Regions from separate parts of the Homo sapiens genome. Here regions 1, 2 and 4 are each linked to region 3. The links are contacts of gene promoters, found by promoter capture Hi-C in blood cells and fetal thymus (Javierre and others, 2016). All regions are on one chromosome and are shown on one strand. The core of a region is centred on a gene start or on the middle of the fragment in contact, and the rest is flanking DNA. Distances in the headings are between cores, read along the strand shown.

Region 1 (5,980 bases), core at 1,779-4,278, 2.1 Mb before region 3:
ATATTAGTAGCATATAAAACAGTAAAATATCAGATAGTAATAAGGAATGAAGTAGTGACACATTCTACAACATGAATGAACTGGGGAAAATATTATGCTAACTGAAAGAAGCTCATCATAAAAGACCACATATTGAGTGTCCTCTATATATTCCATTTAGATGAAATACATGGAATAGGCAAATACCTAGAAACAGAAGCTAGATTAGTGGTTGCCCGGACCTGAGGGTGAATTGGGAATGAGGAGTGACTGCAAATAGGCAATTTCTTACTGGGAAAGATGAAAACGTTCTGAAATTAGATTATGGTGATGGCCACGAAACTCTGTAAATATACTAAAAATCATTGACTTCTATACTTTGATCAGGATAATTTTATGGTATATTAGTTATATCTTAATAAAGGTGCCTTAGAGAAAACTTTGAACCAATCATCTGGTGTGAAACAATTTGGAATCATAAAAGTACATAATTATGTACAAAAGAGCATTTATAATATATATACCTGTACATATTTCACATGGAATTAATTTCATCCTGTTCAAGAAAAGATCATTTTCCCTTTGTATGACAATATAAAGTTTCAAACACAAACTGCCTCTGTAAAATTTCAAAATTAATTATAATTTTTATGTAAAAAATACAAATATTTGCTTCCATCCTGTACAAAAAAAATTAGATGTATGTTTATATGAATAATACAAGGAATGAAAAACATACTTCAAAATGTTTCTGGTGATTACGTCTAGGTGGTAAGATTGCCCTTTGTTTTCTTTCTTTGCATATTTTTCAGTTTTCTATCTGGCGATCATATTAATTAATTTATAATAAATAAATGTTTTTTTTTAAATGAAGCAGGAAAAGATGGCTGCCTAATACCTCAATAATGAAAAAAAAGCATTTTTTTGCTTAAGTAGTATGCTACTTGCACAGATTCACTTTCGCTTCCCCAATGTTCCATTTTCTGGTTTGAACTCTGATGCAGTTGCTTTCTGCTTATTGGTCTGCTAGTGAAAGCAGATTAAGCATTTCTGCTATCAAATTTTAAAAATTCAGTGTTTAAAAAAAAGTGGCATAACAGAAGTTTTGCTAGACCTTCCCAGAACTTTATCATTGTATAATGTATGAGATTTGAAAACTGAAATAGACCAGCTTGTATGTGCCTCCCATGGTTGTAAGTAGGACCATTATTCCTATACCTGTTTTTTGCCGATGTTGCTTCTGTCCTAAGGAAATTCTGCCATCTGAGTCTTCCTTAAAGCAAACGTACACCTTCCCAGAATCATCTTTTATTTCCTCCTTTTGTCCATCTCCCTGATTGGCCATAATAGGGCATTCTTCCAAATGTCAGACAGTCAAAACCTTATGAAGGTCTTTCCGGGTATTCAATGGGTGAATGAATAAGAACTTGAACACATTTGGAGTCTGCTACTGGGATGAGTGTCACTTCAGCTCATTCTCTCTCAGACTCTGCAGAAATCAGTTTTGTGATGATTGCATAGAACAGTGGTTTCCAACCTGTTTGGAAACAGTGGTTTGGCAACCTCTGCATGTATTTTTTATTGTGCCTACCTGGGTGAGGTGTGATTGTCCTTTTTACCCACCCACTGTGTTCACAGTGATGTATGAGTCCGCTAGGACTGCCACAACAAAATACTACAGACTAGGTGGCTTAAAAACAGACATTTTCTCATAGTTCTGAAAGCTGGAAGTCCAGATCAGGGTGCAAGCAGGGTTGGTTTCTGGTAAGGCCTGCCCTGCTGGGTTGCATATAGCCGCCTTCTTGCTGTGGCCTCATTTAGCTGCTTCACTGTGCATGCTCAGAGATTTCTCTGGTTTTGAAGCCACGTTGTTGTCTGAGGTAGTACCCAAGGTTCATTGCCTCATGCCAAGAAAGTTAAGGACATGGACATACAAGGAGTGAGTTTAGGAGCAGAGGTTTAATAGGCGCAAGAAAGAGAAAGGAGAATAGCTCTCTCTCGTGAGAGAGAGGGTTGCCCGAGTGGGTCTTCCGGCCCACTACGGAGTTCACCGGATTTTATAGACAGGCTTGAGGAGGCGGTGTCTGATTGGCATAGGGCACACAGATTGAGTGGACCAGGTATGACGTTTACATAGTGCACGGGGAAGCTGGCCACCCCACCCTTTTCTTATTATGCAAATAAGCTTTCACTTGGCCTGGGCTGTGTCATCTGCTGCCTACTGCAAATGTGGTTGGAAAGGAGAAGGAAAGATGGAGCCGCCATTTTGAACATGCATAGTCCTAGGTGGCCCTTTCCTATTGGCACAGCTGCTGGCTTTCTTCCATGCAAGCTTCCAGCCTGCCCTTCTATGTCTGCAGCTTGATTTTACAGGCTACTCTTTGTTAGCAAAGAAAATGATTTTGGGGCTGCTTTTCATTAAAAGGAAAACCTTACCAAGGACTTTCCTACCCTCACTATCTGCTACATAACTTCTTCTTAACTCCTGTATCGTTATGTCCTTTTTCTTTCTTTCTTTTTAGAGACAGGGTCTCACTCTGTTGCCCAGGCTGGAACTCACTGTCACCTTGAACCCCTGAGGGCTCAAGCGATCCTCCTGCCTTAGCATCCCAACTATCTAGGGCTAGAGGTGCATGCCACCATGCCTGGCTAGTTTTTAAATTTTTTGTAGAGATGGGGGTTTCATTATCTTGCCCAAGCTGGTCTTGAACTCCTGGCCTCAGGAGATCCTCGTACCCTGGCTTCCCAAAGTGCTGGGATGACAGTTGTGAGCCACTGTGCCCAGCCTCTTCTTATGAGGATACTAGTCTTGCCAGATCAGAGCCCACCCTTTTGATCTCATTTAACCATAATTGCCCACTTATAGGTTCTGTCTCCAAATACAGCCCCACGGGGATTAGGGCAACATACGAATTTTAGAGGGACAGGATTTAGTCCATAGACAGTGCTTAGGGCAAAAAGCCCTGCCATAAAGAGATTCAGAGTTGTCTCAATTTCCTCATCAATAAAATGAGAGCAATCCTGATGCTTATTGCAGTGGATGATTGTGGAGAGCAAAAGAGCTGACAAACCTCAAGCACTTAGAACAGAGCTGGAGACAGTGTGAGAGCTACCTAAGTGTTGGGCATTGTTACTTTGTTACCTTTGACATTTTTGTTATTTAGTTGTTGTGTCATTTGGGTATCATGATATGCTCTAATTTTTAAGTGCTTACCCCATACCACATATGTATAATAATTAAGCAGAATTTAAAGGACCTGGCTGAGCAGAACGTGAGGAGAGAGCTGTGGAGCCGTCTATGTAGAATCTGTGGCAGCACCTTCAGCAGGCCTGGGACAGTGGCCTCTGCCTGGACCACTTCTGACTATTTTACAGTGATGCAACAGCAAGGGCTGTTTCCTCTTGGAGACATGGTGGCACTCTGGTTACAGCAACGTGTCTCCTTGCATTTCACTCTCTTTCTCACTGATTAGGTTGTCTTTCCTTTGGGCCATATGACCTGAACTTGCTGGGTCATTAGAGCCTCTTACAAGCACCTCGTCTGGAAAGTCAGTTGGAAAGGAGTTTGCAAGTCCATTACATGTTTCCTGATAAAGAAGGAACTAGTAACATACCCCAGAGACAAAGATAAATCAGAATTTTTCTTTCTCTAAATTAAGACTCAAGTCATTGCACAAAAGAAATGTGCAGAGCACTTTTATAACTGAAGGACAGAAGAGGAGAACCTTTTCATTCACACAGCTTCTGGCTTATGAAATGTAATATGCAAGCTTAGAAAGAATTATTTTAACTCTAAACGAATGAGGAAATTAAATTGAAATTACAATAGTTTAAAATGTATATTTGTTTATAAAATAGATCTATCTCTGTAAGTTACATCATTTTGATTTCTAAAATTCCCCAAATTCTGTATTAAATGATTTCACTCTTTGGTCCCCAGTTTTGCTTATGAAATGTTTTACTGTGTGCTTATTGCATTTGAAGGCAGGATTTTAACAAATGAGTTTTAAGCTTCCCCCCCCCACTGCCTTCAAGAGTTACTATACTTAAATGTATTAATAGAATCCTTTGTGAAATAGAGGCTGGAGCTACATAGCAAACCCTTTTGCAGAGGGAAGGGTATTTTTGTTATAAAGCCCCCTTGGTGTGAATTACTTGTATAGGTGACTCTCAATTTAAATAAGCATAAACTGCCTAAATTAATGAGGTGAATGAGCTTATGGATCTTGCTGTAGTCATGTTCAGTGTAAACTATTCATTGGGGTCTAGATGCTTAGATGAACTCATCTTAGTTAAGGCTATTCGGCATCAAATAATGTGAAACTAATAAGTCGTTGTTCTACTATATGTATTTTTATTTTTTAAAAAAAAATTGAGATGGGGTCTTGCTATGTTGCCCAGGCTGGTCTAGAACTCCTGGGCTCAAAAGATCCTCCTTCCACAGCCTCCCAAAGTGCTTGGATTACAGACATAAACCACCATGCTCAGCCAGTTCTTCATTTTTGATAGATAAAAATTCCCAACAACTGACTGTAATGTTCGTTGGAATGCAAATTTTGCCTATGGCCAGCAGGTGGCAGTATTCAAACCAATTTAATTAAGCTCAGTAAGATGAATAGCTGAATTTTTACTGAGCACCTACCTTACAGCATTGTGCTAGGTGTAAGAGATGCAACACTAAACAAAAACCGAACCACTTATTGTCCTATATAGTTTATTTGTTGTTCTTGTACTATATGTAAGACTAGAAAACCTGTGAATAATCCCTGAAAATGCTTACAATATGACCGTGTTTTATATTGATGGGTAAAGGAGGTAGTAGAGAGGACGCCACACAAGAATCACAAACTGTAATACAAAACTAATATTAAAGGGTCAGTAGAATCACAGAGACATGCGGCTCATAGGCAGTAAAAATCTGTTTCAATAATTATCATAGGGAAGCAATTGTTCTTCGGGTCATCTCTCAGTTTACCGTCTTGTGTCTAGGATGATGGGCCACAGTCCCTTATGTGTAATCCTTTGGGCCAGATGTGTTTAGAACTCAGAATTTTGGAGATTTTAGAAAAGTAACACAATACATATACTGTGCATTACCTAACACCCACTCGTGGAACCTGGGGAACCTTGAAATAAATCAAACACATTCGTATTTATGCCATAAAATATATGAGAATCCACACTGTATGGCCTCATGTTGGTCAGATCTGCTTTGCCAAAAGCTTTGGGTTTTCAGAGACTTTTGGATATTAGGGTGGCAGATGAAGTATTGTACACCTACAACATACTATCCTATGAAAAAAAGAATCTACACTAAAATCTCCAAAAAAGATGTCAGAACTTTCTTTGGTAAACCATTCCAGTTTTCTAGAACATGGATTTGCAGTGTGTAGAAGCTATGGGAGTTTGATTTCTGCATTTGTTTAAAAATTTGTTCTGCATCGTTAGGTGTTGAGCAATGGCATGCTTGTGTTTTTAAACAAAAGTAGACTAGAATTAATTTTGTTTTGGGAATGTTTAAATCATTTCATCAGATATTTTGAGCTAATTAAGAATATTGCAACATTAGGATTAGAAATTTTGACTATAGAAAAAGAATGTTTTGCTTATGATCACTTAATAACGTGACTTGAGATTTCTGCTGAGTTTCAGTGTACCTACTGATAATATAAACAATTTAATAAAAAGTTAAGTAAAAAGATACTGAATCAAAGCAGGCAAAGCCTTCTGTTGCTTATAGTCATCCAGCTATTGCTTATCCAGTTTTATTTAACTTGTGAAAACCAGGGTAGAATTTACCGTAATGGAATGTTATTGATCTTAGTGGACTCTAGATTTTAACAGATTGCTTTTTAATTTTGTAATTTAAGAAACAAACTTAGAACATTTTCACTGCAATTTCTCTAAGTGAATAGAGACCCTAAAAGAAATATTATTTCCAGGAAGCTGGAAGAATCTCCAAATGAAGTTATGACTGAAATAAACAGGATAAGAGGGAAAA
Region 2 (5,359 bases), core at 1,412-3,911, 2.0 Mb before region 3:
GCCAATTCGATAGAAATTGATGGCAGCCCGAGTTGTTATTTCAGCCACGACCCCCTTTCCTGCTTCCTCACAAAAGATAACCACCAATTCTGTTACTTTAACCTTCAATCTCTGAGACACTTTCAGTGCTCATTTTTTCATCCAAATGTCAGGAAAGTCTTGGAACAGTCATCTACATCTTTCCGACACTGCCTCCTTGGAGATCAAAACAGTGACCGGCACAGCACGGGGACAATGTTTGCTTAGAAGTGTAGTCTACATTAAGGCTGTGGCACCAAATTACTAAATCACACTTAACCTCAGTTTATTCATTTGTAGAATGCCAACAACAATCACTAAGTAATAAGGACTAAAGGAGCGAATTGCTGTACCTGTCATATAGTCGTTGTTCAATTAGCATTAACATAAAAGCAAGGAAACTCAACTTAATTAGATTGGGTCTTCAGAGCTGGAATTCGGCTAATTTCTTGCCATTTTAAAATTTGAGTCATCACACTGAATGAGAGGCCTGGCCTTGGAATGATGGAGTAGGGCCACGTGTGTACTTTTGCAAAATTAATGAGGATAAATTAATTCACTAGTAGGTGACTAGTGCACACTGAAGCTCTAAGCTGGATATCTGAAATTTGTTAGTTAAAATTAAGTAAGAGCTATTTTACCTGGAGTATTTCCTTCCTTGTAATTTAAAATTAAACCTTCAGCCAAAGCAAGTAACTTTAATTTAAATGAATTTCAAACTCTACTCTTGCGATTCTATTTCTCTCTGTGTCTTTCTGCCTGTATAGTCATTGTGCATTAGAGCATCTTTGCTGATGAGGTCAGTTTGCTAAAACGATTTATTTTCTTAACAATTTTGAGTATATTATTTAGACCATTTAAACGGCTTTTAGGGAAATTACTGACAAGCATATTTAAATTCAGAGCCAGGTCACTATAAAGAAGAAAAAGTGGAAGAAGATAAACACCCTCATTCAACATCCAGAAGCCATAATTGTGGTCATGAATAATCGTGTATTCCTCTAATAAATTATTAGATTGTAAGCCAATATATTTTGTACAAAATCATCTTAAACATTTCCAGAAGTAAAAATTCAAAAAAAAAAATCAATCATATGGTTCTTTCTGTCACATTTTGGGTATGAACTAATTTATTTGATGATATATCAATGATGAGAAGAAAACAGGAATATTTAAGAAATTAATGATATAGTGCCATGAGTACTTTGCCAACCACTTAAAAATAAGAAGCCAAAATATTAATGGTATAAAATATGTTTATATACATTCAGAATTTTAATGAGATTCTCTTGATATGTTGTGAGTTAAATGCCAAATTCATCTGCACTTAAGCAGATCATACAGGTATTGAGAATGTGGGTAACATGTATGAAGGCAAATTTAAAACACACATTCCTCAGCTGAAAAGGTAAAATCATTAGAGATTATTTAGTGTGTGTCCAGAGAAACACAAAGTTAAGACATTTTATGGTTAGCTGAAAAATGCTGTGGTGATTTTTCCATAGACACCCTCCCTCCCCATTTCGGCTCTTGCTAGATGATTCTCATTTCTACACTGTAATTTCCAGCTTATCCTAAATATAGACTCTGGATTTCAGCCATCCTAATTAAACTGTGAAGTTCTTTTGTAGTGAGCTCTGATGCTTTGGAAATCAATTTCCAAGCTTACACAAGCAGTGTGTGTCACCTTTTTGGTTTTCTTCCCCTTTATGAATTTATCTGGAGATGGTAAATTTCAAATACTATTTTAGTGGCACATTTGTTCCATTTTTTTGGTCCAGGCTGTTAAAAAATAGTAATAATTATAAACTTCCTTCTGTTTTATAGAGATTAATTCATTCTTTCAAAAGTTTCCCACCTTAAAGTACCTATCCCCTTTCCGCACAAAGTCTTTATAGTATAAATAAAGAAAGTGAGATTAAATTGTTTTTCCTAAGGCTATTTGGAGAAACAAGTATGGGATTCTTTTCTGTTACACAAAATTCATGTTTTTTCTGGACACACAGCTGTTAGAGATAATGGGATCTTCACTAAGGGAATAGAAAGTGAGAATCAAACACAAACATTTCAGTACAAGCCACTCTACAGGATAAGGCTAAAAGCTGGTGTGCGGAATCTTGGGTGTTGGCTCAGGAGTACCTGTGTCTTGACAGTGCTCCTCCAGAGCCGGCCTGGCCCCGAGACTGCACCGAGGAGCTGCATGGACTCTGAGAGCTCACCTTCTGTGACAATGTGCACACCTTTCCCATCCTGCCTTCTGCCCTTGGAGAGCAGCCGGCTGCAGTCCCTGGGCTGGGATGATTGGAGACGAAGTTTTCTCTGACTGCAACTTTGAGCAGGGACTAAGACAATGAAAATTCCATAGGAAGGTTGCAAACTATTTTTTAACAAAACCCAGATGTCTATATCCTTTGAAGGTTCAGTTTGAGAGTAATTTTACAAGGACTCTGGTTTGTCTTTTGGCTTCAACTTGCGGAATGTGATTTTACTAGAAGTCTTCATGACTGTTGTGAGGTGGTTGTAGTGGTGGCTTTCCTTTTAAGTTGTCTTGGAAAGGCAGAAACACCTGAAATAGTCAGTGTGTTTGTCCCAGGGCTTAGGAGGTCAAGGAGCAAAAATCAAGCACTCTATGAGCTACAGTTGGACTCAAAGTGTTTTGCAACCCTGGCTACACATTAGAATACTCGTATGAGTCTTCTGAAATAGATGTTAAGTACCTGGGTTTCACATGCTGACCAACTATATCAGTTTCTTTGGGTTGGGCCAAATGTATGAGTAGGCTTTTAAAATTCCCCAGGTGATTTTAATTTGCAGTCTGTGTTGTAGATCAGAGTACTGGTTCCAAACATCGATGTCCACAGCCATGGGGAGCTCTATAGATCTCCAGGTATGTCACAGAAGCCTAAACATTACTTTTAATATGCTTTATTTGAGACAAAGTAGTTACTACTTTAGATAGCAATTTTGGAGGGTAGATCAACCAGGAAGGAGGCAATGAGAGGAAAATAAATGAAGTACTCAACAGAATGATGCTTCCGTTCTAAAAAGGCAGGGATAATGATTTAGAGGGTTAAGTTTCCTCTATATGGGTCTAAGTTATGAAAAAATATATAAAAGAAAGTTTGGTTTAAAAAGATAGAAGTTATAACAAATGTGCTATGCAACATTCTTTTTTCGGTTGATCTCACACTAAGATAAAAATGTTACATTTTGCTACTAGATATATGCTATTATAATACTGTCAAGTTAGCATAATGGATTTTGCCTACAAAACGGTCCAGTCTTGAGCTAAGATTTAGCAGATTGATACACTTTAAGAAGAAGGAACATTTTCCGGTTCTCATTGTCAGTGTAAAGCAGTAGTTCTCAAACTTAAAACAGAATCATCTGGAACTTGTTAAAACACAGATTTATGGGGCTCACACCAAGAGTTTCTGATTCAGTGGTTCTGGGTGGGACCCAAGAATTGCATTTTTAACAATTTGTGAATGATGCTGATACTACTGGTCTGGTGGTCACACTTTGAGAAGCACCGGTCAAAAGCATTAGAATAGTCATTCATAGGTTCATTTTACGTAGTACATGTCTTGGCTCAGGTTCTCTAGAAATAGAACCTGAGGCAAAAGCTTATATGTGAATGCTTTATTGGAGTATGCAAGCCCTGGGAAGCTTGTGTGAGGGAAAAGGAACATGAAGTCCAGAAGGAGGGCAAACAGATCTGAGGGTGTGTTATGGTGCTGTGGAGCTGACCTGGAGAGAGAAAGAAAAAAGAATTTACCTACCACCTCTCTCAGATGTTCCCTCCACTTCCAAGCTGTGTCTCCTTCCTGTCCAGTTAGTCACTGGAGAAGCCAAGCTCCATAGATATAATCTTGCCAGAGGGCAGTTGGCATGTGCATGGGATCCTAGGTCTACAGGCTTGGCAGCAAGACTCTGCAAAGCACCAGCCTCTGGGAGGGTAGCTTTTTCCATAAAGGAAAACAAGAGCCCCCACCCAGAGTAGCATATAAACTGACCCTGGTAAACGATCAGTGCTTCTCAAATTATTTGCTGTGAAAAATATGGTTTTAAAATTGCCACTGGTTCATAGATCCTTGCCCCACTGTGTCCTCTTGTGCCTGACAGCATGCAGTGCCACATGTGATGTGACTCAGTACATTGGCTCAGCAACACCCAGATCAGCCTAAATCTTGTTCATGCAAGGGAGTCCACTGCTCACATACACAGATGTCATGGCAACGTCAAGTTGCTGTGAAGATTTGCAAATACTGACTCTCAACTGTTTTTCTGCCCCTTTCTCTTCATGAACTGATAACAATTAGCAGACCGGGTTGTCTGCAGACCACTCTTTGGAGAGTGCAAGTGTATTAGTTCGTTTTCACACTGCCAATAAAGACATACCCGAGACTGGGCAATTTACTAAAAAGGTTTAATGGACTTACAGTTCCATGTGGCTGGGGAAGCCTCACAATCATGGTGGAAGGCAAGGAAGAGCAAGTCATGTCTCACATGGAGAGCAGCAGGGAAAGAAAGAGGGCTTGTGCAGGGCAACTCCCTGTTTCAAAACCATCAGATTGGCCGGGCACAGTGGCTGGTGCCTGTAATCCCACACTTTGGTAGGCCGAGGTGGGTGGATCACCTGAGGTCAGGAGTTTGAGACCAGCCTGGTCAACATGGTGAAACCTTGTCTCTACTAAAAATACAAAAATTAGCTTGGCATGGTGGTGAGTGCCTGTAATCCCAGCTACTTGGGAAGCTGAGGCAGGAGAATTGCTTGAACCCAAGAGGCGCGAGTTGCAGTGAGCCAAGATCGTGCCATTGCACCCCAGCCTGGGTGACCAGAGTGAGACTCTGCCTCAAATACACAAACAAACAAACAAAAAATCAGATCTCATGACACTTATTCACTATCACAAGAACAGCATGGGAAAGACCTGCCTACATGATTCAATTACTTCCCATCAGGTCCTATCCACAACACATGGGAAGATGAGATTTGGGTGAGGACACAGCCTGACCATATCATTCCACCCCTGGCCCCTCCCAAATCTCATGTCCTTACATTTCAAAACCAATCATGTCTTCCCAACAGTCCCCCAAAGTCTTAACAACTCATTTCAGCATTAACTCAAAACTCCACAGTCCAAAGTCTCATCAGAGACAAGGCAAGTTGCTTCTGTCTATGAGCCTGTAAAATCAAAAGCAAGTTAGTTACTTTCTTGATATAATGGAGGTACAGGCATTGGGTAAATACAGCTGTTCCAAATGGGACAAACTGGCCAAAACAAAGGGGCTACAGGCCCCATGCAAGTCCAAAGTCCAGCAGGGCAGTCAAATCTTA
Region 3 (6,195 bases), core at 474-2,973:
TGCGCTCGGCAGAGGCACGATACAGCGGGAGAGAAGGGCAGGCCCGTTCACATTTTAATCGGAGCGCACCGGCGGCCGCTCCTCGGCTGCGTCCTGGGCTGCCGCTCGGGCTCGGGACTGCCAGATGCAGGCTCTGGCTGGGGGCGGCGGGCGCAAGCGGGCGCACCCGCAGCTAGGGGTGCGGGGTGCACGCACACGCACGCTCATTAAGAGCCATGTATTTATTGAATGTCCGAGTTGGGTTAGTTCATTGGAAATCCCCGAGGAGGGCTCAATTTGCCCTTGTTTTCGTTGCCACTTTCTCTTTTTTCTTGGTTCGCTGAGGTTCCTCTGTGCAGCGTTTCCGCTTGGCCGCGTCCCCCCACCCCACCCCACCCCACCCCCGCTTCTCTCGCCTACCGGGTGCACTCCCCCTCCCATCCCCCTTAACTCTTTCAGCTGGGTTAGAGCTGAGAAAGCATTTGTCGCCGCCAGCCCCATCCACCACGCAAATCCATCTGAGACAGAAAGGAAAGAAAAAAAAGCACCACCATGCCTAAGAATAGAGAGCGAGCAAACCCCCCCACCGCTAATCACACACACACACACACACACACACACACACACACACGAGGAAGCGGTGGAGCAGAGAAGGGCGCGGCTAGCCGATCCCGGTTCTTTCGCCCGGCTCCTGCTGCCACAGGGAATTCCTAAAGCCATTGGGGTCGAATACACTTACGATGAATCTATGGGGGAAGGTCGGACTGATTGCTTTTCAAATACATCGCACGGCTCCGCTGACCGGCACCCTCCAAACTCACAAGGGCACGCACGCTACTTGCACGAATCCCAGAGGAGGGAGGAGGGAGGAAGGGAGGGAGAGCGAAGGAGGGAGAGAGGGGGTGGAGGAGCCAGGGAGCGGCGGCAGCGAGCGGTCCGTCTCGCACGCGCGGGCACCGCGCTGGTCCTGGGCTGCAGGTTTCCCAGATGATGGCATCCGAGAACTTAAACAAAGGGGGCTGCCGCCGGCGCGCAACGGCTGCGGAAAGTTGCGGTGGCGGATTTCCAAGGAGCGTGGCCACGACCAGAGCTCTTGGCGATGCGAGCCCCCGCTTCCCACCCCCGCCGATCAGAGAAGGGGGCCGGCTGGTGAAGGGAAGAGGAAACTTTGAAACCACTGGGGACACATCTGTCTATAGGTATTAGCTTGAATGGTACATCCGTGCCGCGCGCTTTACAAATCTCTGGCGGGGCGGGGGTAAGGGGGTGAGCAACCCGACGCGTACTAGGTGGGGTGGGCAGGTTGCTATTTTTCATGTTTCCCCCTTCGTTTTCCTTCTGATTCTCTTCCCCCCTCTCGTCCCTCCCTCCCTTTTATCTCCCCTTTCTTCCCCCCGCCCAGACCTATTGCGAACGCCCAGAGCCGCCGAGGGAACGCCAACGTCTGGGCCGGACACTAAGAGTTAAGATGTGGCGGAGGGGGCGGCGGGGGAGGGGCGGGGAGGGGAAAGTGGTGAGGGGGAGGGAGGCTGGAGGACGACAGATTTCCAGCTTCTACGACGCTCTGCCTAAATTAAAAAGCAACCAATCGGAACGGCCGGAAGGGGGGCCTCGCGTCCTGAGCCAGTCATTCCGAGCCTGCCAATCACCCAGCGGGTAGCCAATCAGCGGGGGCCCTGGTGCTCGACTTCCTTGTATTTGGGAAAGTGTGGTGGTGGGTGCGCGCTCGCGGCGGAGGGTAAACATTCGACAGTCCCCGCTCTGAGAGGGAGGGACAGAGAGCGAACTGTCAGATCGGAGCGAGAGCGGGCGCCCGAGAGAGGGAGAGAGAGAGAGGGAGGGAGAGGAAAAGTGAGAGAGGGAAAGAGAGCGCGAACGAGGGCGCAGAGCGAGCTCCTGCTGCAACTCTGCTCCAGCACGGCCAGCGCCAGCGCCCGCCGTCGGTGCACTCTACGAGCCGTGCAGCGTGCCCACTGGAGTTGTTGTGTATCAAGGATCGATCCCCTATATGCACACACACACCTCCACCTCCACCAATGCACTCTTCTTCCTCCTCCTTCTCCAGACAACTGCTGGGAAAAAAATAAAACACCAACCCCAACCGTCAGCAACAAGGTAACAGAGCGATTCGACATCATTTTTTTTCCTGTTCAATTTTTTCCTTGTTATATTTGTTTCCTAATTTCTGCCCAAAAGGAAAGATGTCGCATCAGACTGTGACTGTTGCGAGGAGAATGAAAAAGGACTCTTGTTTCAGAGGCAACCAAGAGCTCCGGCAATAGCAACTTCAGAGAAATGCACCATCGCAAGAAGTTTTCCTAGGACAGAACAAAACTTGAAACGAGAGGACCAGAGGGGGAGAGCAGGAGCCAGCCTCCCCTCTCCGCACTCGCGAGCAGCCAGCAGCACCACGCCTTCAAGGACGAAAAAGTTTTACTACTCTAAGGGAAAACGAGTGAAATGTGTTCCTGAGGAGGAGAGGAGAGGAGAGGAGAGAGCGGACAAGAGAAGGAGCGGGCCGGTTGCTGGTCATCCGTAATTTGGCTAAGGAAGAAAGGAGCAGCTTCTTTCTTTGTTATCTCCCGTGAAACCTTCACTTAGCAGGTGGACGGAGCCCCGCGACCGGGCAGAGTCCGGGCTCGCCCGAGGACAGGAGGAGGAGCGGGAGCCCGCGCGTCCCGGGAGAGCGCCCCGAGTGCAGGTCCCCGCCCCGCCCGGCGAGCCCCGCTGGAGCGAGCCCAGCGCGCCGGGGCTGGGGGGCGGCCACGACCCCCCCTGAAGGGGGTGGCCACGGAGCGCACCCCGAGAAGCGAGCCCCCCTCCCCAGAGCGCTGCTCCTGCGGCTGCTGCTGCTGCTGGTGACCAAGGCCGGCCGGCGACCCCCGCGCCCTGCCGAGCGGCCTTGCAGCTGCAGCCGGGGGCCGCGGCGGCGGCGGCGGCGGCGGGGGCGGAGGCGGCGGCGGAGGAGGAGGCGGCGAAGGCGGCGGGGCCGGCGGGGGCCCGGGGCGGGGGCGGGGAAGGAGGGGGGGAGGAGGCGGGAGGCGGGGGGCGCGGCGGCGGCGGCGGCGGCGGCGGCCGCGGCTGCTGCTGCGGCGGCGGCGGCGGTGGTGGCGGCGGTGGGGTGGCGGGAGCGGAGCGGCATGGCCACGGCGGCTTCTAACCCCTACCTGCCGGGGAACAGCCTGCTCGCGGCCGGCTCTATTGTGCACTCGGACGCGGCAGGGGCTGGCGGCGGCGGGGGTGGCGGCGGCGGCGGCGGCGGGGGCGGCGCAGGGGGCGGGGGCGGCGGCATGCAGCCGGGCAGCGCCGCCGTGACCTCGGGCGCCTACCGGGGGGACCCGTCCTCTGTCAAGATGGTCCAGAGCGACTTCATGCAGGGGGCCATGGCCGCCAGCAACGGCGGCCATATGCTGAGCCACGCGCACCAGTGGGTCACAGCCCTGCCCCACGCCGCCGCCGCCGCCGCCGCTGCCGCCGCCGCCGCCGTGGAGGCGAGCTCGCCGTGGTCGGGCAGCGCCGTGGGCATGGCTGGCAGCCCCCAGCAGCCACCGCAGCCGCCGCCGCCACCGCCGCAGGGCCCCGACGTGAAGGGCGGCGCCGGGCGCGACGACCTGCACGCGGGCACAGCGCTGCACCACCGCGGGCCGCCGCACCTCGGACCCCCGCCGCCGCCCCCACACCAGGGCCACCCTGGGGGCTGGGGGGCGGCCGCCGCTGCCGCAGCCGCAGCCGCCGCCGCCGCCGCCGCCGCGCACCTCCCGTCCATGGCCGGGGGCCAGCAGCCGCCGCCGCAGAGTCTGCTCTACTCGCAGCCCGGAGGCTTCACGGTGAACGGCATGCTGAGCGCGCCACCGGGGCCCGGCGGCGGCGGCGGCGGCGCGGGCGGTGGAGCCCAGAGCTTGGTGCACCCGGGGCTGGTGCGCGGGGACACGCCAGAGCTGGCCGAGCACCACCACCACCACCACCACCACGCGCATCCTCACCCGCCGCACCCGCACCACGCGCAGGGACCCCCGCACCACGGCGGCGGCGGCGGCGGCGCGGGGCCTGGACTCAACAGCCACGACCCGCACTCGGACGAGGACACGCCGACGTCGGACGACCTGGAGCAGTTCGCCAAGCAGTTCAAGCAGCGGCGCATCAAGCTGGGCTTCACGCAGGCCGACGTGGGGTTGGCGCTGGGCACACTCTACGGCAACGTGTTCTCGCAGACCACCATCTGCCGCTTCGAGGCCCTGCAGCTGAGCTTCAAGAACATGTGCAAGCTCAAGCCGCTGCTGAACAAGTGGCTGGAGGAGGCGGACTCAAGCACCGGCAGCCCCACAAGCATCGACAAGATCGCGGCGCAGGGCCGCAAGCGCAAGAAGCGGACCTCTATCGAGGTGAGCGTCAAGGGCGCGCTGGAGAGCCACTTCCTCAAGTGCCCCAAGCCCTCCGCGCAGGAGATCACCAACCTGGCCGACAGCCTGCAGCTCGAGAAGGAGGTGGTGCGGGTCTGGTTCTGCAATCGGCGCCAAAAGGAGAAGCGCATGACGCCGCCCGGGATCCAACAGCAGACGCCCGACGACGTCTACTCGCAGGTGGGCACCGTGAGCGCCGACACGCCGCCGCCTCACCACGGGCTGCAGACGAGCGTTCAGTGAAGCCAGGGCGCAGAGCGAAGAGGGCCGCCGCCGCCGCCGCCTCCGCAGCCGCCGTCAGCACCGCCGCCGCCCCTGCCGCCGCCGCCGCCGCCGCCGCCGCCGCTGCCGCCGCCGCGCCGACCCTGCACCTGGGCCGCTCCGGGCTCCAGCCCAGGCCCATCCGCCGCCCTCCCCTCCACCCAGAGACAGGCATGCCCGCCCTTGGAGGAGAAAACGCGGGAGAAACGGACCAAGGAGGCATTTTTGCAGTCCAAGGAAGGAGGGGCCAAAAAATAAAAAGCATAATAAACACCCAGACTGTTTTGTATACATATATAACAAACAAAACCGGAAGAGAAAAAGGGGGCGATCATGAGATCTCGTTCATACTGTGGTGGTGTTTCGTTTTTGTTTTTGTTTTTAAAGAAGGGTGAAGATGCCTGACGCACGAAAACTGCACTCGTGAGGTTTTTCCACCCTGAGATGACCTACACGGCAGCGGTGGACAGCACCTGCCTCGTCTTCTCCTCTTTGAAAAAAAGAGAGAGAGAGAGTCCCCTTTCCTTTCACTTTCTCCCTCCAAAACAGCTGCCTAAAGAGATCCACGGAAACTTTATTTCCTGGGAGCGACCTGAGAGAAAACAGAGGCACCAGGTTCCATCAGGGGACGACACCGTGCTCTGGGACCCTGTTTTTCTTGGCCATATTAAAGTCATTTGGAAACAAATCAACTCTGAAATGGGAAGGAGGGGGGAAAAACAGTCTCCAAGAAAAAAATAATTATATTGACAGCTTCTGAAACTAACAGACTGAATAGCAAAGCCAAAAGAAAAGTATCCTCAAAGTAACCTTGGAAATAAAAGGATCGGGAAGGAGCAGAGGGAGAGGGGGAACGTCCGCTGAGGAGTGGCGAGAGGCCCCGGCCGAGTCGGGTCGCGGGCGGGCGGGCGAACTGGGAGCAGAGCGGGGGCCCAGCCAGCGAGGCCGCCGAGCCAGGCCCGGCCGCGTACCCAGGCTTTGACGGCTGCCATTCAGGGTGGACGATGCCTAAAGATTCCACCGCTAATATTTTTTTTATTAATATTTTTTATTTTTTATTTCTGGACTGACTCAGATAAAGGAATTTAGAAAGACTGAGCACCAGCCGCTGCACTTCTCTGGACTTCTCTCCTCAATCCGTTGCCAACTTTGATTGAATGGGTGCTGTGGATGTGATTATATAATACTGCCATTTCCAAGCAGTGTTTTTGGTAGGTTTTAATAAACAGACTTTTCAAAAGACGGCAATATAGAATTGTTAGATCCGTTGTTGATCTAAAAATATTTGCTTTATATTTTCATTAAATGACTTCTTTTAATATTTTATTCAGAATACTTATGAACTGCTGCAAAACGGTAATTTATTTTTCCCCAGATCTTGTATTACGTGTTTTTTTCAGACGAGCACAAATCAAAATGAAATGAAAATATGGACAGTTGTTAGGTAATAAGGGTATCTTTTGATGTGATCATTTGATTGTAATTTAATTTGAGTAGTGATTCCGTAAGAGCTGATCGAGAAAATAAATTTGTTAGAATGAAATAGTCTGTGTCT
Region 4 (6,218 bases), core at 1,203-3,702, 2.0 Mb before region 3:
AGCAGTGGGATTGCTGGATCATATGGTAGCTGAATCTCCAAACTGTTCTCCCTAGTCGTTGTACTAATTTGCATTCCCACTGACAGTGGACAAGTGTTCCCTTTTCTCCACAATCCTTGCCAGCATTTGTTATGTATTCTACATTTTAACCAACTAACAAATGAAAGTTTGATACACAAAGGTAAACAGGATCCACCCTGCATACACGACCGATGTGTTAACATGCAGTCATCTTAAAAGAAGAAGAGTGGTGGGCCAGGCATGGTGGTTCATGCCTGTAATCCCAGCACTTTGGGAGGCTGAGGTGGGCAGATCACCTGAGGTTAGGAGTTTAAGACAAGCCTGGCCAACATGGTGAAACCCAGTCTCTACTAAAAATACAAAAATTAGCTCAGTGCGGTGGTACATGCCTGTAGTCCCAGCTACTTGGGAGGCTGAGGCACGAGAATTGCTCAAACCTGGGAGGTGGAGGTTGCAGTGAGCTGAAATCGCACCACTGCACTCCAGCTTGGGCAACAGAGCTAGACTCTGTCTAAAAAAAAAAAAGAAAAAGAAGAGTGATGAAGGATGCCAGATGCAGAACTTCTGGGTCTTGGGATATGCTTCTTAATGGGGGTCTTCACCATGACTTATTGCAAACTTGGGACACCCAACCACCAACTGATGGCAAAGAAGAGCTAGGCATTCTCCTTGTGACAATGTTCTTTCTTTTCATAGGACAAGGCTTACAGTTTCATATGTATTATGTAAAGGTGAATTGTGTATGCCAAGTAGAGAAAACGCAAGAAGACAGTGGGAAATGTTGATATATTTCATATTGCCATGCTCTCATATCCCCATACCTGGCATGACAGAGTGAGAGACGGATAGCCATTCTTGATGGATACAGTGGTCATGTATTTCACTGGATTCTATCCGCCTACATTCTTTATTCCACTATGCCATTTTGTTCAGAATTCAAATGTATTCCAGGGATGTATTTCTGGACTATAAATTAACTCTTTCATTTAAGTAGTTCTCCTCAATATTCCTCTAAATTCTTCCCCTTGAAATTACATCCTACTTTTGGTATTGTTATAGTTATTTTGTTCATTTCTACTGGGATTGTAAATCAACACATACATCACAGTCATTTCACAATTCTCATCGAAAAAGACCTCACTCAGCTTAATAAGGTGCAGTGCCTTGAGTATCATTCTTTGAAGGCCTTTGAAGTGTTTCCTTCCAGGCTTTATTCTTAAAGAACGAAGATACTGGGGCCAGGATGTCTGAGCCAGAGGCAGAATCCTATGCAACTGTGCTCAAGTCCAGCACTTAAATAAAAGCCAGAAGAAGTTGGAACTATTGCAAGCACATTTATAATATCATTTGAGGGACAGCTGGGGTCAGTGCTAAATTTTAAATTATCAGATGCAGGGAGACAACTCTTGCATAACAATAAGCGCAGGCTGTCACATTGAGCAGAAAATAACCATACTTTCACCTTGGAAAATATATTCTAAATAGGACAGTAATTGTTTTCAGAAAGCTATTCAGTGACTTACTTTCTCCCCCACCACACACACACTCAAGAATTGCCCAGGAATAAGGTAAACTTTTTATTATAATTTATACAATGTGGTAATTTTTTGAATAGTTTAGAATTTTTATAGCCTGATAACAGATCTTCCAAATTGCACACAGCCATCCTGCACTGGCAGGGAGACAGGCTTGGATGACCTGCTGGGTCTTTCTCATCTCTAATGTCTGTGAGTCTTTGAAATACATCCCGGAGCTTAATTATGACAGCAGTCTTTATTATTCTGAGCCCCTAATGGCACACTTCATGGGAACAATGCAAAAAGAAAAGAGTCAGTGCCTTTGCCGTGGTTTACACAAAAATTGGAACATGCTATGATTTCAGGGAGGAGCTCCCCTTTCTCAGGCAGGTGGGAGGTTGGAGGAGGAGTGGTGGGTTAGGGAGAAGAGGGTTGCTGGCAGGGGCTTATTGAACTAATTCTCAGTTATTTGTTCATAGTCTGGTATAAATCAGTCATAGATAGACTTTTTGCAGGAATAACAACCATGTTAATTTTGAGCCTTTGCCTCAATTTAGACAACTTAGATATCATCCCCCTCCCATCACCAGATCCAATTGCAGTTCTAATTTCTCCCTGGAATTGTGCATGGGGACTAGAAAATCAGGTCAAACATCGTGCTTATTTTTTAAACTTTTAATTTTGAAAAAATTTAGACGTATAGAGGAGTTGCAAAGAGAATGGAGTGCTCCCACACACACACCCTGATTTATTTTCCCCAAGGTTAACATCCCAGGAAACCATGGTTCAACTCTCAAAACTAAGTTAACCTTGGTACAATACCAAGAACTAAACTACACACCTCATTAGGAATCCACTAGTCTTTCCTCCAATATCCTTTCTCTGTTCCAGAATTAGGTCCAGGATCCCACCATGCATTTAGTTGCAATGTCTCCTTATTCTCCTCTCATCTGTGACAATGTCTCAGTTTTTCCTTGTCTTTCATGGCCTTGAAACATTTGAAGAGTACTGGTCAAGGACTTTGTCCAGCATGTCTCATTTATATTTGTCTGATGTTTTGATAGATTGGAGCCATACATTTTGGGAAAGAATACCACCAGAGGCCATGTGCCCTTCCCAACGCATTGCATCAGAGGACATAAAATATTAACATATCCTATTTCTGGTGATGGCACCATTGATTCTATTGATTAAGATGAGGTCTGCTAAGTCAGTAACTTATCCCATTTGTGTAAATGGGACCTGGGTCAGCCATGGAACCTAGATAACCTTATGTTAATTATGAGTTCAATAAATACATAAGTTAAATAGTATATACATATCTTGAGCAAGGATTCAGTGTTTCCAGTCATTGGGTGGGCTTGCATTTTTAATTTCCCTGCTCTACGAAGTGTGACCGCAAAGGTATATAGGTCTAAATATATCTCTGGCAATGACATGGCTGCCTATAGCCATCCCTACTTTGCCGTGGGCCTAACTCTAAGGCTGAAGGATTATCCATTGATAAACTTCATGCACAACAGTCTCTGTAAAGAAAAAAACCCTCATCCATTTACCATCTTAGGACTCGTCTGTTTTTTTCTGTATATTGTAACATTTCCCTTTTTTTTTCCTTCTGATCTTCTCTTGGGATCCTCTGCTGTAAACAGAAATCTAGAAGATGGGGGGATGGAAGTGAAGTGGAATGTAAAAACGTCTGCCAGTGCCCCATGGTCTCCAACCCACTTTCAGATGCACCGTCTCATTTCAACAGATATAGGTGAGCCTTGGGAGGTGTGCATATCCATGAGAGTGTTATTGCTACAAATAGAAAAACAAAACAAAACTGATGCTTAACAATGTTCAAGGACTTGCCAAGGTCATATGGCTGTGACAGTGCAGAGTGGGTTGTAGATCCAGGGTCTCTGAATACTTAGTCTGCTGGTCAGGCTCACCACATATTTCACACCAGGAAAACAGGCTCAGGGCTCCTGCAGGTCCAGAGCAGTCCAGCATATAAGCAGGTGACTTGAACTCTCGATTTATTACCAAGCTGTTACAAAAGCCAAGCATCCTTCGTTAATCACTCTGGGTTTTCCACTTGCCGGTTGTTACCTTAGGAATAAAATATTCCTGGGGTCTATTTCTAATTTAATGCCAGGATGCAAATTGGGCCTCACCCGTTTCACCTGAGGTGTTATTTATGCCCAAATAACACCTCCTAGATGAGGACTTATTGTGCCTGTTTCCTCCTTTGGAAATTAAGGATAATAATAGTAATCAGCTGCACACAAAGCAATTGTGGGGGGCGGGGATGGGAAAGGCTCAGTGATTGTAACAGCTCACAGAAAACCCAAGATCAGGGAGAAGTGCTGTAGAAATGCTAAATGCAGCAGGAAGAATTATGACATCTCTGCAAATTCACCACCGGAGGCCAGGATAATACAAATGCTTGGCAAATGGTAACTTCATTCAACAAATATATTTTGGCTACATGTAACATTGGAATCCAAAGGTAGAAGGGTTTTTAGATAATAATAATCGTGACTCGATTTTTAAAATTGACATTTTTTACAGTAGTTTTAGGTTCACAGCAATATTGAGTAGAAGGTATAGAAATTTCTCATGTGCTCCCTGCCCACACGCAGGCACAGCCTCCTCTGTTACCATCATCCTCCACCACAATGGTGCATTTCTTACAATTTATGAGCCTTCATAACACATCATAACCACCCAAGGTCCATAGTTTACTGAGGGTTTACTCTTGGTGCTGTACAGTCTTGGTGTTGGGTTTGGACAAATGTATCCACCATTATAGTACAAACGGAATTGTTTCACTGCCCTAAAAATCCTCTGTGTTCCATCTGTTTATTCCACCCAACCCCTGAAAACCACGGATCTTTTCACCATTTTTATAGCTTTGTGCCTTTCAGAATTTTCTTTTTTTAAATTTATTTAATTTATTTTATTTTTTTATACTTTAAGTTTTAGGGTACATGTGCACAACATGCAGGTTTCTTACATATGTATACATGTGCCATATTAGTGTGCTGCACCCATTAACTCGTCATTTACATTAGGTATATCTCCTAATGCTATCCCTCCCCCCTCCCCCGACCCCACAACAGGCCCCGGTGTGTGATGTTCCCCTTCCTGTGTCCATGTGTTCTCATTGTTCAGTTCCCACCTATGAGTGAGAACATGCGGTGTTTGGTTTCTCAAGGACAGAATGTTCTATAGTTGGAATCATACAGTATGTAGTCCATTCAGATTGGGTTATTTCACTTGGTAATATGCATTGAAGGTTCCTCCATTTCTTGTCATGGCTTGATAGCTCATGTCTTTTTAGCACTGAATAATATTCCATTGTTTGGAGGTACCACAGTTCTCTTTGCCCCGTGAAGGATATCTTGGCTGTTTCTAAGTTTCGGCAATTATGAATACAGCTGCAATAGACATCCATGTGCAGATTTTTGTGGGGACACAAATTTTAACTTATTTGGGTAAATACAAAGATTATAATTGCTGGATCATATGATAAGAATATGTTTAGGTTTAGAAGAAACCTCCAAATTATCTTCGAAAGTAGCTGCACAATGTTGCATTCCCACCAGCAATGAATGAGAATGCCTGTTGTTCCACATCCTCACTGGCATTTAATGCTGTTTGTTTTTTGGATTTTGACCATTGTAATACGTATATAATGGTATCTCATTTTGCTGAAGTGTTTTAAGTGCCAGATACTGGACTAAGCACTTTAAACAATGATCTCATTGAATCCTTATAAGAATGCTATGAGGTGAGTGCTATGCTTTTGTCTTCCCATTTTCCAGATTAGTAAAGGCAAGTTTAAAGAGGCTGCATAACTTGCCCAAGATTCCATGAACAAAAAGCACAAAGCCAAGTGTTCAGAGGCGTTCTCAGTGCTGGTTTGCTTGTCCACTCCCTGCTTTTATGAAGGAGGGCCTTGATTCTAGATCTGTTAAAGGACTCACTCAGAGTGCCACACAGAGCAGGACACAGGAAGAGAACTCGGCCTCTGTCAGCTGTGCTGCCCCACAGACAACTTCTCAGCCTTCAGTCATGGCAGGGTTGGCCATTAATAGAAAGCGTTCAGTCCTTGGCCTTATACTGGGAATCCTGATGGCTATTCCAAGCTTCTCCAATCCAGTGCTTATTTCTGAATGCATTTAATGCTCTGATTGGAGACAGGACCTCTCTTGAGTGCAACACATAAAACTTAGCATTGCCTCACAATCAGTTGAAATATGTTGCCTGCCCTGTGCCTGAACACCAGCTGCAGATGAGAGGTCTGTGTTATTATGGTACCTCCCTCCAACCTTAATTGTTTTCTTAGGTAGTTTCCACTCCCAGTTCTCTGATACCCTGTGGTGTTTCTAATTTCTTCATATGTCATAGTTAATTCTTAGAACATTAGTTCCAACCCAATTCTATTTGAAAAACAAATGTTAGACATAAGAAGGTGAAGTTTGTGGGTTTTTTTTTGTTTTTCCAATTTAGGGGGCTGTAATCCCTAAAAAGTCAAGAATTATAAAGTTGTTCATTAAGATAAATAAGAAAAACGTTATTTGTTTTTAACTTAAACTAGAGAGAAGAAAAGCATGAACAGCAAAGCATTGACTAGATTCTACCGATACATTGAAGAATGATTTGCTGTTGTTAATAGGGTGGAGATTCTGT

The links. The method cuts DNA at HindIII sites, captures the fragments that hold promoters and counts their contacts. A CHiCAGO score of 5 or more calls a contact.
Region 1: a contact is called between a fragment that was not itself captured here and the fragment with the promoter of POU3F3 in region 3, in 1 of 17 cell types (naive B cells). The highest score is 6.8, in naive B cells.
Region 2: a fragment that was not itself captured here is called in contact with the fragment with the promoter of POU3F3 in region 3 in 3 of 17 cell types (endothelial precursors, naive B cells and M2 macrophages); the score reaches 12.1 in endothelial precursors.
Region 4: a contact is called between a fragment that was not itself captured here and the fragment with the promoter of POU3F3 in region 3, in 1 of 17 cell types (total B cells). The highest score is 6.6, in total B cells.

The regions. Positions count from the first base shown.
Region 1 is chr2:102,749,202-102,755,181 of GRCh38, forward strand. It overlaps a transcript of TMEM182 not described here. Among named protein-coding and RNA genes, the nearest start is that of TMEM182, 9.8 kb to the right of the region's middle. The HindIII fragment of the contact is 1,438 bases long and covers 2,310-3,747 here.
Region 2 is chr2:102,848,881-102,854,239 of GRCh38, forward strand. No RefSeq gene overlaps it. Among named protein-coding and RNA genes, the nearest start is that of LINC01796, 44 kb to the right of the region's middle. The HindIII fragment of the contact is 1,962 bases long and covers 1,681-3,642 here.
Region 3 is chr2:104,852,392-104,858,586 of GRCh38, forward strand. It overlaps POU3F3 (POU class 3 homeobox 3), which reads left to right and starts at 1,724. Exons shown (of 1, transcript NM_006236.3): 1 at 1,724-6,183. The coding sequence starts at 3,120. The coding sequence ends at 4,622. It also overlaps a transcript of PANTR1 not described here. RefSeq lists a silencer at 70-119 and an enhancer at 1,328-1,917. The HindIII fragment of the contact is 8,766 bases long and covers 1-6,195 here.
Region 4 is chr2:102,831,222-102,837,439 of GRCh38, forward strand. It overlaps a transcript of TMEM182 not described here. Among named protein-coding and RNA genes, the nearest start is that of LINC01796, 61 kb to the right of the region's middle. The HindIII fragment of the contact is 6,439 bases long and covers 1-5,672 here.